4 separate regions of the Homo sapiens genome follow, and regions 1, 2 and 4 are each linked to region 3. The links are contacts of gene promoters, found by promoter capture Hi-C in human tissues and cell types (Jung and others, 2019). All regions are on one chromosome and are shown on one strand. The core of a region is centred on a gene start or on the middle of the fragment in contact, and the rest is flanking DNA. Distances in the headings are between cores, read along the strand shown. Region 1 overlaps LYPLA1-TCEA1 (LYPLA1-TCEA1 readthrough). Region 2 has its middle 140 kb from the start of LINC02984. Region 3 holds the start of ATP6V1H (ATPase H+ transporting V1 subunit H). Region 4 overlaps LYPLA1-TCEA1 (LYPLA1-TCEA1 readthrough).

Region 1 (3,455 bases), core at 560-3,059, 240 kb before region 3:
CCCCACATCCCAGACGATGGGCGGCCGGGCAGAGACGCTCCTCACTTCCTAGACGGGATGACGGCCGGGAAGAGGTGCTCCTCACTTCCCAGACTGGGCAGAGGGGCTCCTCACATCCCAGACGATGGGCGGCGGGGCAGAGACACTTCTCACTTCCTAGATGGGGTGGCGGCCGTGCAGAGGCTGCAATCTCGGCACTTTGGGAGGCCAAGGCAGGCAGCTGGGAGGTGGAGGTTATAGTGAGCCGAGATCACGCCACTGCACTCCAGCCTGGGCAACATTGAGCACTGAGTGAGCGAGACTCCGTCTGCAATCCCGGCACCTCGGGATGCCGAGGCTGGCAGATCACTCGCGGTCAGGAGCTGGAGACCAGCCCGGCCAACACGGCGAAACCCTGTCTCAACCAAAAAATACAAAAACCAGTCAGGCGTGGCAGTGCGCGCCTTCGGCAGGCTGAGGCAGGAGAATCAGGCAGGGAGGTTGCAGTGAGCCGAGATGGCGGCAGTACAGTCCAGCCTCGTCTCGGCATCAGAGGGAGACTGTGCAAAGAGGGAGAGGGAGAGGGAGAGGAAGAGGAGGGAGAGGAGGGAGAGGGAGAGGGAGAGGAGGATTCTTTAAACATTGGATTGGTAGACTTCACCTTGAAGCCATGTGGTACTGGGCTTTTCTCTGTGAGACTTTGGATTACTGATTCAATTCCTTGTTACAGGCCTGTATAGATTTTGTTTCTTGAATCCGTTTTTGGTAGTTTGTGTCATTCTAGGAATTTGTCTATTTAGTCTAGGTTATCTAATTTATTACCATGTAATTGTTCATACTGTTCTCTTATAATCTTTTCTATGTGTCAAGTTAGTAGTAGTCTGTTCTTTGTTTCCTGATTGTAATAATTTGAGTCTTCTCTGTTTTTTTTCTTTGGTTGATCTAGCTAAAGGTTTGCCATTTTTGTTGATCTTTTCAAAGAACCAACTTTTGCTTTAGTTGATAGTCTCTCTCTTTTTTTTTGAGATGGACTCTCGTTCTTTCTCCCAGGCTGGAGTGCAGTGGCTCAATCTCAACTCACTGCTACCTCCGCCTCCCAGGTTCAAGCAATTCTCTTGTCTCAGCCTCCTGAGTAGCTGGGACTACAGGCACGTGCCACCACACCCAGCTAGTTTTTGTATTTTGGGTAGAGATGGGGTTTCACCATGTTAGCCAGGCTGGTCTCTAACTCCTGACATCAAGCGATCCACCCGCCTCAGCTTCCCAAAGTGCTGGGAATACAGGCGTGAGCCACCGCGCCGGCCTCTGTTGCATTTATTTCCACTCTAGTTTTTATTATTTTCTTCTTTCTGTTTACTGTGGATAAAGTTTTTTGGTTTTGGTTTTTTTTCAGGTAAAAGATTAGGTTGTTAATTTGAGGTCTTTATTTTATATATATATATATATATATATTTATTTATTTTTTTTTTCTTTGGTCTCCCAGGCTGGAGTGCAGTGGCGTGATCTCAACTCACTGCAACCTCTGCTTCCGAGGTTCAAGTGATTCCTCTGCCTCAGCCTCCCAAGTAGCTGGGATTACAGGCATTCACTGCCACACCGGGCTAGTTTTTGTATTTTTAGTAGAAACAGGGTTTCACCACATTGGCCAGGCTAGTCTTGAACTCCTGACCTCAGGTGATCTGCCCACCTCAGCATCCCAAAGTGCTGGGATTACAGGCGTGAGCCACCGTGCCCGGCCTGAGATCTTTATTTTTAAACACAGATGTCTACAGCTATACATTTCCATTTGAGCATTGCCTTTGCTGCATCCTATGCATTTTCGCTGCTGCGTGTTTTTACTTTTTCTAAATGGTTAGGAAAAAACTTAAGACTTAGTGACACATGAAAAGTATATGAAACTCAGATTTTATTGTACATAAATAAGGTTTTGTTGGAACAGAACCACATCCTTTTGTTTACATGTTGTCTATAGTTAATTTTCATCCTAGAGTGGCTGAGTTGAGTAGTTGCAACAGAGACCTTCTGGCTGGTAAAGCCTAAAATGTTGACTCTTTTGGTCCTTTGCAGAAAACAATTATTGACCCCTGTTGTTTAATATTTCTTGATATACAGATGTTTTACATCATGATAAATTCATCATAAAATCAAAAAATCATAAATTTAGCCATTATAAGTTGGGAACTGTTTGTATATTCATACTATGAAAAATTGAGCTTTTCATTGTTATTTTTAGCTTGCATGAGAGTTAGAGCTGTATTTGCTTAGAGTAATATTCCTAAGATGATAATATTCATCATTTGATTTTTCTGTGGGTTCTTATGGGCTACCTGTTAACATTCAAATATAGAGCACAGCAGTCATTTCTTCACCATGTGGTCTTAACCTACTTTATCTGAGGTGTCTTCAATTTCTGTCTCTGATTTTTAAGTATTCTTCTAGACTAATTTAACAGTATATGTGCAAAGGCCTAATTTTTTAAAAGATTTTTGTGACATTAATGTTTTAAAGAATTTTTTCTAAGGAAAAAATGATGTCTGCGAACATTCATTTTATAAGACTGTACAATGAGACCGGGTGCGGTGGCTCATGTCTGTGATCCCAGCACTTTGGGAAGCCGAGGCGGGCGGATCACGAGGTCAGGAGATCGAGACCATCCTGGCTAACATGGGGAAACCCCGTCTCTACTAAAAATACAAAAAATTAGCCAGGCGTAGTGGCGGGTACCTGTAGTCCCAGCTACTTGGGAGGCTGAGGCGGGAGAATGGCGTGAACCTGGGAGGCGGGGCTTGCAGTGAGCCGAGATCGCGCCACTGCACTCTAGCCTGGGCAAGAGAGCGAGACTCCGTCTCAGAAAAAGAAAGAAAGACTGTACCATGAGAAATCTGTGTGAAAAAAATTGAAATGCCAAAATGTTTACAAAGAAGAATATTTGATAAGTTAGAATTCCAGCAATTTAAGTGGAAAAAGTGTATCCTGGGCAGGTGCAATGGCTCACACCTTTAATTCAAACACTTTGGAAAGCCAAGGCAGGAGGATCACTTGAGGCCAGGAGTTTGATACCAGCCTGGGCAACATAGTGAGATCCTGTCTCTACCAAAAAAAAAGTACATTCTAAAACTGTAGATACAATATAGTCTCATAACAAATAGGAGCTAAGCTGTTAATGATTGTTTCTTTTTTTAAAAAAAGGATTAGTTCTTGATCGCACCAGTCCAAATGCTTTTCATTTTCTACTTTTGTCTTTTCTCCCCTAATTGTAATAAGGAATAAAACATACTATGGTGCGTATGTATGTGCGTGTGCGTTGTGGGGAAAACCTGTCCTCTGTCTTACTGCTCCTGCTGTATAAATTCTTTTTGATTTTCATAGCTGAAACTAATCTTTTCCTTCTCTTCCACATTTTGACATTCTTTGTAACTTGTTTGTAGGGCTTAACTTTTGATCTGTGTGGTGGTATGTTTATATCTTGTTTCTCC
Region 2 (3,443 bases), core at 838-3,337, 180 kb after region 3:
TTTTAAGAAAGTTTACAAATCTGTGTTGGGCCACATTCAAAGCCATCCTGGGCCACAAGTGGCCCTCAGGCCGAGAGTTGGACAAGCTTGATTTAAACCAAGGCTGAACAAGTATTGGAGCTCACGTTTCCCTCTTTATACACATCTACATTCCGTGAAATTTTACCTGCAAAATATATCTGAGATGTGGCCTCTTTGTGGCCACACCCACCCCTTTCTCCTGCCGGGTTTCTCTCCTGTTCCTCACGCTGGCCGGGAACCTTCTGAATCTGGGCTCCGTGCGGGCCACTCCCTGCCTGTCCTCCCCCAGGAAGCCTTCTCGGCTGAGGAGCATAGACTTTGGGCTGGCGGACCTGGCCCCGGCGCTTTCTTCAAGGCTGAAGAGCTTCCTTCCACGCTGTGGCCCGCGCCTCTCAGGTCTCCCCTGGAGTCAGCTGCCAGGCACCCTGACCTCAGCGCTGGACTCCTCGGAGTCTGCTTCCTCCTCCCAGAGGCCTTCTCTGACCCGCATCTAACTGGTATTCCCTCGTTCTTCTTGTTCACAGCAATGTCTCACACCCTTCCTTCAGTAACTTGATGACTGTTTATGAGGTTTTTATTGTGGCTCTTTGCTTGCCTTGTGGCCTCCCCACGGCAAATCAGAGGAGGCCAGAGTCACTTCCCTGCACCCGGCTCCTCACGCGGTGCCTGGTAAGCAGTAGATGCTCAATGTGTGTGTGAACAATGTGCACGTGGAGTGGACAGTAAACAGGCCCTGGCGAGGCCTTGGTAAGCGTGTTCAACAACATTGGTCTCTGGCAGGTTGGATCAGGACTGATTTTAATTTCCTGTCTATATATTTCTGTATTTTGCAATTTTTCTCAGTGAGAATTAATTAATTTTGAGATCAGAGAAAAGCCTTAAATAAAGAAAGGCCAAGGAAAGAACGGCCACCTCCTGAGGTTTCAGTGAAGGGAGGACGGATTCCAGGATTCTGGGCACGTCGCTTGCAGAACCACAGAAAGGTCCGAATGGAGGTAGTCCTTGCAGGCACATGGGCTCCTGGGTGATAGTGAGTGGAGGCTGAGCTGAGCTCTTTCGGTGCCCCAAGGCCCTTGGGCTCTGGAGAAGAATGGACAAATTCAGCTATGGCATAGCAGGGAGGTTGAGCGACGAAAAGTAAGAGGCACTTTGGGGTTAAATCAGCCTTTTAAAAAAGTAGTCAAGAGGTAGGGAATGAGTTGCTTGATTTCTTCAAGAGTGTACGCAAGGAGGGCCTGGGAGGCAGTGCCAGGGTCTGGTGGGATGCCTCCTGATAAAGGGTGGTGATTTACATTGGAGCCGTGGTTCATACTGCTAAACCCTTTTTGGAGGTTCAGTTTTTCCATCTATAAAATGGTGTTAATAGTGCCTATTTGGCAGCTTTGATAGGAAGATGAAATGAGATCGTGTATTTTAGTTAGGCGCTTATTACAGGTCCTGATGCATAGTCAGTGCTCACTTACTCCAGTAACCAGGAACAAATTCTGTTGGGTCATCTCCCTACAAGAGAGAGGCTTCCCAGGATGAGAAGGCACTCCAAAATTGTGCTGTACAATTCAAGTTAGAATCCAGTTTGGGAGCCATTGCCTTGAAGCACTCACCGGCCTGTAATTGTCCATACTTTCCTCTTGCCCTAAATTTTCAAAAGGAGTGGTTGTTTTCCAAGTTACCTGCCAATATCCGCTTTTTGAATACCCCTCGGCAATTACCATTGCTATGCTAATTTAGGTGAAAAAACACAAAAGAATTCTTTTTAAAATTTCCATTAATGCAAATGGGTTTCTGGAAGTGAATATCATGGCCTTGTTTTGGTCACCGATTTGTGGGTGGACATTGTGAAATGTCATTTCCAATAGCAGGTTTGTTTTATTCTGGAACTTTGACCCCACAAGTGAAGCCTCTGCAATTCCTTTCAGTGAGAGAGACAATGGCATGACACTCTGTGCTCTTGCTTTCTTGCTTTTATGTGCACATCCGGACAAGTTGAAAGCTGAGTGGAAAGCAGCACTTTCTTAAAATTTTCCAAGGTACATTGAAGATAAACATCATTTGAATTGTTAAGTCAATCTTTACAGTAGAGGAAGAAAAATTGTGAGCAGCACAGATAGAAAACTGGGGCAAACCAATGTAAGAAATGGTCTGGCTGAGTCATGTTCCTGTTCCCGTCAGATTTTCCTGTGAAAGACATGAGGACAGACGAAGGCGGAGGTAAAGATGGCAGGTTCTTGGCCGAATCACTTGTTCTGGCTTGAGATTCTTAGCTAATGCTCTACTTCATAAGCAAACAACTCACAGAGACAAATTATGAGTCAGCACATGAAATAATTTCTAACAACAAAATAAAATACAGCCCACCACACCCATCCTCAGTGCTGTAGAGTGTTTATGGGGCATCTCTGGTATCTTTGAGGTTGTCTCATTCACTCCTTTAGTGAGCACAGATGACCACAGGGCAGTGGTGGGGAGGGCTGGGATGTGGACAAGGTGCCACAATAATCAAGGGATTAGGTAAAGCTGGTGTGTGTGTCTTTGCAGGGGAGTGGGCATAGGGGATAACAGAAATCATAAAGCCAGGAAATGGTATCTAAATGGGTCTTTAAAGTGTCAGGGAAACATGTCCAGGAAATTCAGCTTTTGAGGCCAAGAGACTGAGAATTAGGGAGGAGAAAGGGGACACCTGGGGTGGGGCATGGGCCCTGGAGGCTGCTGTGGGATCTGGGTGAGTGGGATGGCTGTGCTCAAAAGGCCAGGATGGGGCCAGCGGTCCTTCCCAGGTCACAGCAGCTGGAATGCAAAACATTCTGCACGCTCAGGACCAGGGTCTTTCTGGGTAGCCAAGGGAGGGAGGCTCAGCTAGATGTGCTTCACTTGCTTTGTGTGAGGGATTCCTCACTGTACCCACTCAGAAACCCTCAGGAGCATGCACAAAATAAGCCCTGAGATCCTGGGCCTCTTCAGACAGCTTAATATCCCTAAAGTCCTGTGACTCACAGCCCTGCAGGTGGCCAGCATTTGCCGAGAGAGGACCATCTTCTTGCCCTCCCCCTCACCTGCATCACCACACTCTGTGGTGCGGTCAGAGGCTGGGCTAGGGAGACAGAGGGCATGGGCACAAGTCCTGGCTCTGCCCCTCGCTCACCAGCTCTGAGGCCTTAGACAAGCAACTTGACCTCTCTGTGCCACTGTTTCTGTTTCCGTAAAATGGTGATAACAAAGAGTACCTAACTGGTAGGCTGTTTTAGGAATGTGTGAGATATGGCCTTAGGATAGAGCTGAGCACATCATAAGTTGTAGATGTTTTAAATACATCCCATCCATTAGTGCCTAATGTCCCCGCCAGTTTTTGGATTGAAGTATAACCAAACAGACAACATCATCAATACCAGCTGGCACTTCCAGCGCAGAAGAAATGTGAGCGTTCT
Region 3 (3,312 bases), core at 85-2,584:
AAATGCGAAGATCAGGCCTCACTGCCAGCTTTGCTCAGTTACACAGAAAACATGCTGTTTCAGCTTTTGGGAGTTTCTTAGTACACGATCGGTTTCTTTTTCTCTTTTATGAAAGTTTTTCCCCTTAGATTTGCTTTCAAAACAACAGACTTTCACTTCTGGCTAAGACAGAATGAGTGACCTAGTACAATCTTTGACACTGTTATTATATATCTTTATTCATAATCAATGCATGATTTTGATTATTCTGACTTTAATTTTACGAGTAAAAATGGGTTGGTTATAAATCCCTTTCAAAGAATTTTTTTTTTTTCTTTTTGAGACGGAGTTTTGCTTTTTCTGCCCAGGCTGGAGTACAATGGTGCGGTCTTGGCTCACTGCAACCTCTGCCTCCTGGGTTCAAGTGATTTTCCTACCTCAGCCTCCCAAGCAGCTGGGATTACAGGCATGCGCCACCACACCCAGCTAATTTTTTGTATTTTTAGTAGAGATGGGGTTTCACCATGTTGGTCAGCTGGTCTCGAACTCCAGACCTCAGGTGATCCACTGGCCTCGGCCTCCCAAAGTGCTGGGATTACAGGAGTGAGCCACCGCGCCCGGCCCCTTTCATTGCTTTTTAAGGAAAACATGCTATCATATATACTTCACCTCCAGGGCAGTACATTCTTACTTTAAGGCAAAGACAGTTGCTGAGGCCTGGACTAGGGGAAAATTTGGGCTCCAGATGGGACTGTTGGATAAAATACCAGACGTCCTGTAAATGTGAATTTTAGATAAACAACGAATAACTTTTTAGTATAAAAGTAAATACTGCAATGGAATTTATTATTTGCTAAATGTGCAACCCTAGGTTAAGAGAGCTTTTCAGACCCACTTCTCAGCCCGAGTTTTCTATTTAAAATCAGAATAAGAACGCCTGCTTCATGGAGCTGTTAAATCCAAATGGAAATTAATTTGAAAGCGCGAAATCAAACTTTTCAAAAGAATGACGGTTACAATAAGAGCGTTTTGGCCTCTGCTAGCTGCTTCCGGGCGGAGGTCCTCGGCCTCCCCTAGGCGAGGCACTAGGTCTGGGGGCGGCGGGTCTTAGCGTGCCCGCCACGCTCGCCGCCTCCCACCTGCCCTGGCTGGCTGGGGCCCGACCCTTGCGTCGCTCCGGGGCCCAAGTTACGGACTCGGGAATCCAGTTGTCCGCACCGAACAAGCCCCGCCGCAGCGCCCGCCCCTCCTCTTGCTGCTTTGGAGTCTCCCGGCTTCCGCCTTCCGCAGCAGTCACGTGCCTCCGATCACGTGACCGGCGCCTCTGTCATTCTACTGCGGCCGCCCTGGCTTCCTTCTACCTGTGCGGCCCTCAACGTCTCCTTGGTGCGGGACCCGCTTCACTTTCGGCTCCCGGAGTCTCCCTCCACTGCTCAGACCTCTGGACCTGACAGGAGACGCCTACTTGGCTCTGACGCGGCGCCCCAGCCCGGCTGTGTCCCCGGCGCCCCGGACCACCCTCCCTGCCGGCTTTGGGTGCGTTGTGGGGTCCCGAGGATTCGCGAGGTAAGGCCGCCCTCGCGTTGTTTGGTCTCAGGCTGCAGACCAGGTCAGGCGACTCTTGCAGTTTCTCCAGCTTGCCTGGTGCGTGCTGGTGTCTCGCCGCTTGGTCCTCTCCTGTTCTTCGGCCCCCGGTTGCCAGATTGCTTTTCTTCCAGGCCTCAACCAGGTTTATTAAGCGAAATTCTGGAGCCTTTCTCGCAGGGGGAAGAAACGTCAGGGGCGGGCAGGAGAGTGGAGGGGGAGGGGTAAAAAGTATACCTTCTCCAGGACTGGGCCACGGCCCTGGATCGCTGGGGGTGCGAGTAGTTCAGGGACTTAGGTAATTGTCTAGAGACACCTTGAGCTACGCCAGGACGGGCCGCTGAGGCTGAGCCTCCTTGGCTGCAGAGTTCCAGCCTGGCCCAGTTGAAGCCTGTTTTTTCCTGGGCCCTGTCGTTCGCGCTGCCCAGGGTTGTTTATACAGCAAATCTTCAGATACAGAGATTAAGTTCCAAATTGATTAAGATCGTTGGAAACCCGGAATATAATTTTGGGTAGGATTTTAACTTCTTTGTGGCCATGGCCGTGAATTTATGTTTTGCAAGTGGCAACCTGTATTTTGCTTTGTGTTAAAATCAGTCGTTTGTATCTGGAAGTTTAGGAGTGAGAATTACATAGAATTTCATTATTGTAGGTTCTTGTCGTCCAGCCAGACCGCCATTGTTGGCTTACCTAAATTGTAATATGTATTTGTTCTAAAACTTTCTCTCCGAATTTTGATTTTGCAAATACTATGAATTTTGTTTGAAAAGGAAAGCACTGTCTTCTAAGAAATTATGTTCCCACTTTGTGTATTTTAATTTGAGTAATTTTCGAAAGGACTTAGAATTTTTAATGTGCCACTTCAAAATGATGCTTAGTAAATGTTTATAAAACTAGCCTTATCCGTACTATTCATATTCTTATTGTTTCTCTATGAGAAAAGTTAACCACAATTGTATAAATTTACAATTTTTCCCATATTTATACCTATTCTATTTAATCATGATTTCTGATTTCAGTATATTAGGTGATTGCTTTAAAAATCTTACTGCAGTGTTAGTGCCAATAATGAAAAAAATTTTTCTAGAAAAGCAAAAGCCTAAAGAACTCTTTTATGGAGCAGTGGACAATATTTGAAATATAATGATACTTTCAGACTTAGGACATTTAATATTTGAGTTGAATGCCTGGGGAGATTAAAGTGATCACGATATTCATAATCATAATATTAATAGTTGTAAAAAAAAGAAACACCTCGTATTCTGTTTTTACCTTGCATCAAAATTGAAGATTTGTTGAAAGACATTCAAGATTACGAAGTTTAGATGACCAAAATGGATATCCGAGGTGCTGTGGATGCTGCTGTCCCCACCAATATTATTGCTGCCAAGGCTGCAGAAGTTCGTGCAAACAAAGTCAACTGGCAATCCTATCTTCAGTAAGTACCAATTTGCTGTGAATCATGGACAGTCATATGCTTTTGCATCAGACTTTTTCATGGTCATGCTTCTATGAGAGAAATACAGGGAAAATACTGAAAAATGTGGAAGAAACACTTCCTCTTCAGAATAATTAGCTGTCTTAGGGAGTTAAGTGTAGTGGGGTGGAAACAGCTTGGCGCCCTAGTGGGGAAGCAGAGCGGCTTATGGTGCTTTTGACCTTCTCTGGCTGCCTGGGGAAGTACTTTTGGAATAAGTGGGAAACATAGGAGGAATGTCCTTGGGCTAACGGAGGGAGGAAGGGGATGAG
Region 4 (3,402 bases), core at 503-3,002, 130 kb before region 3:
ATCCATTAAGCTGCCTTCCAAAGAGAACAATTACCAGTATTTTGTTGTTTGCAATATTTAGTGAATTTTTTTCTGTGTATAGTTGGAATTAAGTACTGTAAAAACTATTTTATGCTCTTCTTTTAACTTAGCTACCATAATGTAAGCATTTCCCTCTCTTTTAAAATTTTTCCAGAGAATAGTTTGAGATGTATAAAATAAATCAGTGCTATACAAAAATAATAAAAATATTTTGCTCTTTTATTTACAAATTAATTTCATAAACAAACTTAACATGATAAACAACAAAAAGTTCTTCCATCTTTTATGGCTAGAAAAATAAATTATTTTAATAGCTATTTAAATCTGCCTCCTGCTCCCAGAGAAATTAATGTATTATATATATATATATTTCAAATTATCCCTAACCTTTAAACAAACAAGCGTAGATACTGCTCTATTTTTACATAGAATTGTAAACAGCCTTTTAAAAAGCTGGAGTAGGCTGGGTGCGGTGGCTCACATCTGGAATCCCAACACTTTGGGAGGCTGAGGCAGGCGGATCACCTGAGGTCAGGAGCTTGAGAACAGCCTGGCCAACATGGTGAAACCCCCATCTCTACTAAAAATACAAAAAATTAGGCAGGCGTGTTGGCGCTTGCCTGTAATCCTAGCTACTTAGGAGGCTGAGGCAGGAGAATTGCTTGAACCCAGGAAGTGGAGGTTGCAGTGAGCTGAGATCATGCCATTGCACTCCAGCCTGGGTGACAAGAATGAAACTCCGTCCCCCCCCCACCCCCACCCCCACTACCCCCCAAAAAAACCAGAAAGCTAGAGTAACTTTCCACTAGTTGGAATTGAACTTCATAAAATATAAACATTTTATAAACCCTACAATTCAGGTAATTTGATTTAATTATGACTAATCTATAGGAATATACAATACAAATTTGTCAGTCATCCACAATTAAGAACAACTATTTATGAAGAAAAATTTTACTATGTTTAGAATGAGATTTTATTCATATTCTTGAAAGGTAGCTTTGTTCCCAATAAATATTTCTCCTACTATTTCTGTATATTTTAGGGGATGTTTTCAATTCAAAAAGAAATAACATCCAGTTATTTGACTTTTTTTTTCTTGCTTGAAACTGCTCTGTTTTGGTTTTTACAGATTTAATAAACATTGACAAGGCAGGATCAGTGGACTTCACCGAAACCCCCACCTCCCTGGTTCAAATGATTCTCCTGCCTCAGCCTCCCGAGTAGCTGGGATTACAGGTGCCAGCCACCATGCCTGGCTAATTTTCTTGTATTTTTAGTAGAGACAGGGTTTCACCATGTTGGCCAGGCTGGTCTCGAACTCCTGACCTCAGGTGATCCACCCATCTTGGCCTCCCAAAGTGCTGGGATTATAGGCGTGAGCCACTGTGCCTGGCCCTCTTTTTTCTTTATTGCCTGAGTAAGTTCTTGTTTTTTCTGTTCTCTTTGCCAGGCTTTCTCCTCAAGGGTTTTTTCCACAGCTTTTGTTTTCTTGAAATTGGGATCTGAGGGATGCACATTGAACAAGTGGGAAGTGTACATTGCTTGAAACCATGCATTGCTAACATTTACCTCAAAGTCATCCTCTAATAATTTCTTTTTTTTCATGAGCTGCTTTTTCTTCTTTTTCTTCTTTTTGCTCAGGTTCTGGTGCTCCACAATCTTGTTGTAATTGAAGTGTTTCTTACTTTCCTCCTCCTCATCCAGTAAGGAAAGCCATTTCAGCCTTTCATCTTTCTATTTTGGTTTCTTCTTCTGGAGATGTGCCATCTTTTGCAGATTTTGTTCACTTTTTTCTTTATACCTATTTTTTTAAACTTCTTTAGCAAAGTACTGGTCATTCATATCAACATCAGAGGGAAGTTAATTTTCACTGGCCTCTTTAGCAAGAGTCTTCTTTTTCTTTTTGTCTTTTTTTCTTTCTTCTTTAAAAATTGTTCCCAAGGGGTCAGTTTATCCTTTCCTTTCAATTTGTTCTTGACCATCTCTTTGCACTTTCTTTAAGACCTGGAACCCACTTCGTTTCCATTTCCATATCATTTTCTTTGTCTTTCTTTTCTTTTTCTTGAATAACCTGCAAAAGTTGCCTATATTTAGTGATTTGTTCTTCATCGTCCTTCTGACTTTTGTTTTCCCATCTTCTTCTACATTGACTTCATCATCACCTTGTAGCTCCTCTTCTATCTCCTCTTCATTTTCGCTAGAGGAAGCTAAGTAGTCTTGAAAATCCATGTCCAAAAGCTCTTCCTTTTAAGCTTCCTGTTGAGTGTTGTAATTCTTTCATGTTCAGTCTCATCCCAAGTGATTTCCACCATTGATGTTCCCATTGCAGCAGATATGATATATATTTAGTTTATATGCTGTTAAATACACCTCTGAGGCTACGTCCTTCGGCTCATCATCAAAAGTAGTATCATCTGGTATAAACCTTAGATCTGTGAAAGAACAACTACTTTCAAATTCCAGGCCACCACAATCCTCATAAATTTTACTGGCTGTTTCAGGAGAATCACAGTCTACTACTGCATAATAGTACTTCAGTCATTTGAGTTGATAACCTCTCAGTTTTTCTCTAGAGGTCCAGTCCTTTTTTGGGGCATCTTCAGGAACACTTAATAGCTCTACTGATCCTCAAACTTGCTCTTCCTTCACCCTCTCCTTTCCAAACTCTGAAGAATATATTTTTACAGGAAATATAACACCTCCTTTAGGTTTAAATCAGTTGAACAGAGTCAGCAAATCTTTTGCCTTTAATCTATCCCAGTCCATGTTGCAAACTGCTAATTAATGTGTAATGTCATCAGCACGAGGAGCAGGTTTATCTGATTCTCTCCATGCATGCCCAAAACTTGATTCTTCTGGAAACAAATCTGCCATATCATCTTCATTTTCAGAACTAGTTTCTATATTTCCTTTACCCCTTGCAAGATTAGGGCTGCTGTCACTTGCATCATCATCCTCACCATTCTCTTCATCCTCCTCTTCATTTTCATCATCACTTCCATTGTCATCATCACCTGAAGCTCTACCAATACTTGTAATTTCATTTTTAGATTCCTCATCACTTCCTGTTTTACTAACACTTTCTAAATCTTCCTTTAGAGCATCTTTGTCAAACATTTTACTGTCTGTTGAGTTTTCATAACCATCACTGCCACTTGCCGTTATGGATGGAACCACTGGTTGCATTTCTCTTCTTGTCTTAGAACACTTGATCTTGGGAGATTTCACATCAGAGGTGCCCGAGTCTAATGTCCTTCATCTTTCTTTGAGAGAAGAGTTGATAGTATGTTGAATAATGTTTTTTTTCTCTTTTGTACTTTTTTGTGTAAATTTTTTGCTCTCCTTCTTTGGACTTATGTTGGGAGCTATCTTAGATTT

Evidence for each region. Contacts are between HindIII fragments. The study calls those that stand out against the background at their distance.
Region 1: a fragment that was not itself captured here is called in contact with the fragment with the promoter of ATP6V1H in region 3 in 1 of the 25 tissues and cell types used here (mesenchymal stem cells).
Region 2: a contact is called between a fragment that was not itself captured here and the fragment with the promoter of ATP6V1H in region 3, in 1 of the 25 tissues and cell types used here (thymus).
Region 4: a contact is called between a fragment that was not itself captured here and the fragment with the promoter of ATP6V1H in region 3, in 1 of the 25 tissues and cell types used here (mesenchymal stem cells).

Annotation. Positions count from the first base shown.
Region 1 is chr8:54,082,118-54,085,572 of GRCh38, reverse strand. All of the region lies in intron 2 of LYPLA1-TCEA1 (LYPLA1-TCEA1 readthrough), which reads left to right. The region is part of intron 2 of LYPLA1 (lysophospholipase 1); the gene reads left to right. Among named protein-coding and RNA genes, the nearest start is that of LYPLA1, 18 kb to the left of the region's middle. RefSeq lists an enhancer at 17-964. The HindIII fragment of the contact is 7,195 bases long and covers 1-3,455 here.
Region 2 is chr8:53,658,235-53,661,677 of GRCh38, reverse strand. No RefSeq gene overlaps it. Among named protein-coding and RNA genes, the nearest start is that of LINC02984, 140 kb to the right of the region's middle. RefSeq lists enhancers at 1,424-1,964, 2,273-3,077, 3,078-3,443. The HindIII fragment of the contact is 7,622 bases long and covers 1-3,443 here.
Region 3 is chr8:53,841,267-53,844,578 of GRCh38, reverse strand. ATP6V1H (ATPase H+ transporting V1 subunit H) reads left to right here and starts at 1,334. Exons shown (of 14, transcript NM_015941.4): 1 at 1,334-1,545; 2 at 2,854-3,001. The coding sequence starts at 2,889. RefSeq lists a silencer at 1,026-1,175 and an enhancer at 1,246-1,385. The HindIII fragment of the contact is 6,704 bases long and covers 1-2,044 here.
Region 4 is chr8:53,971,910-53,975,311 of GRCh38, reverse strand. All of the region lies in intron 19 of LYPLA1-TCEA1 (LYPLA1-TCEA1 readthrough), which reads left to right. The region is part of intron 8 of TCEA1 (transcription elongation factor A1); the gene reads left to right. It also overlaps the pseudogene LOC100131254. Among named protein-coding and RNA genes, the nearest start is that of TCEA1, 49 kb to the left of the region's middle. The HindIII fragment of the contact is 6,532 bases long and covers 1-3,402 here.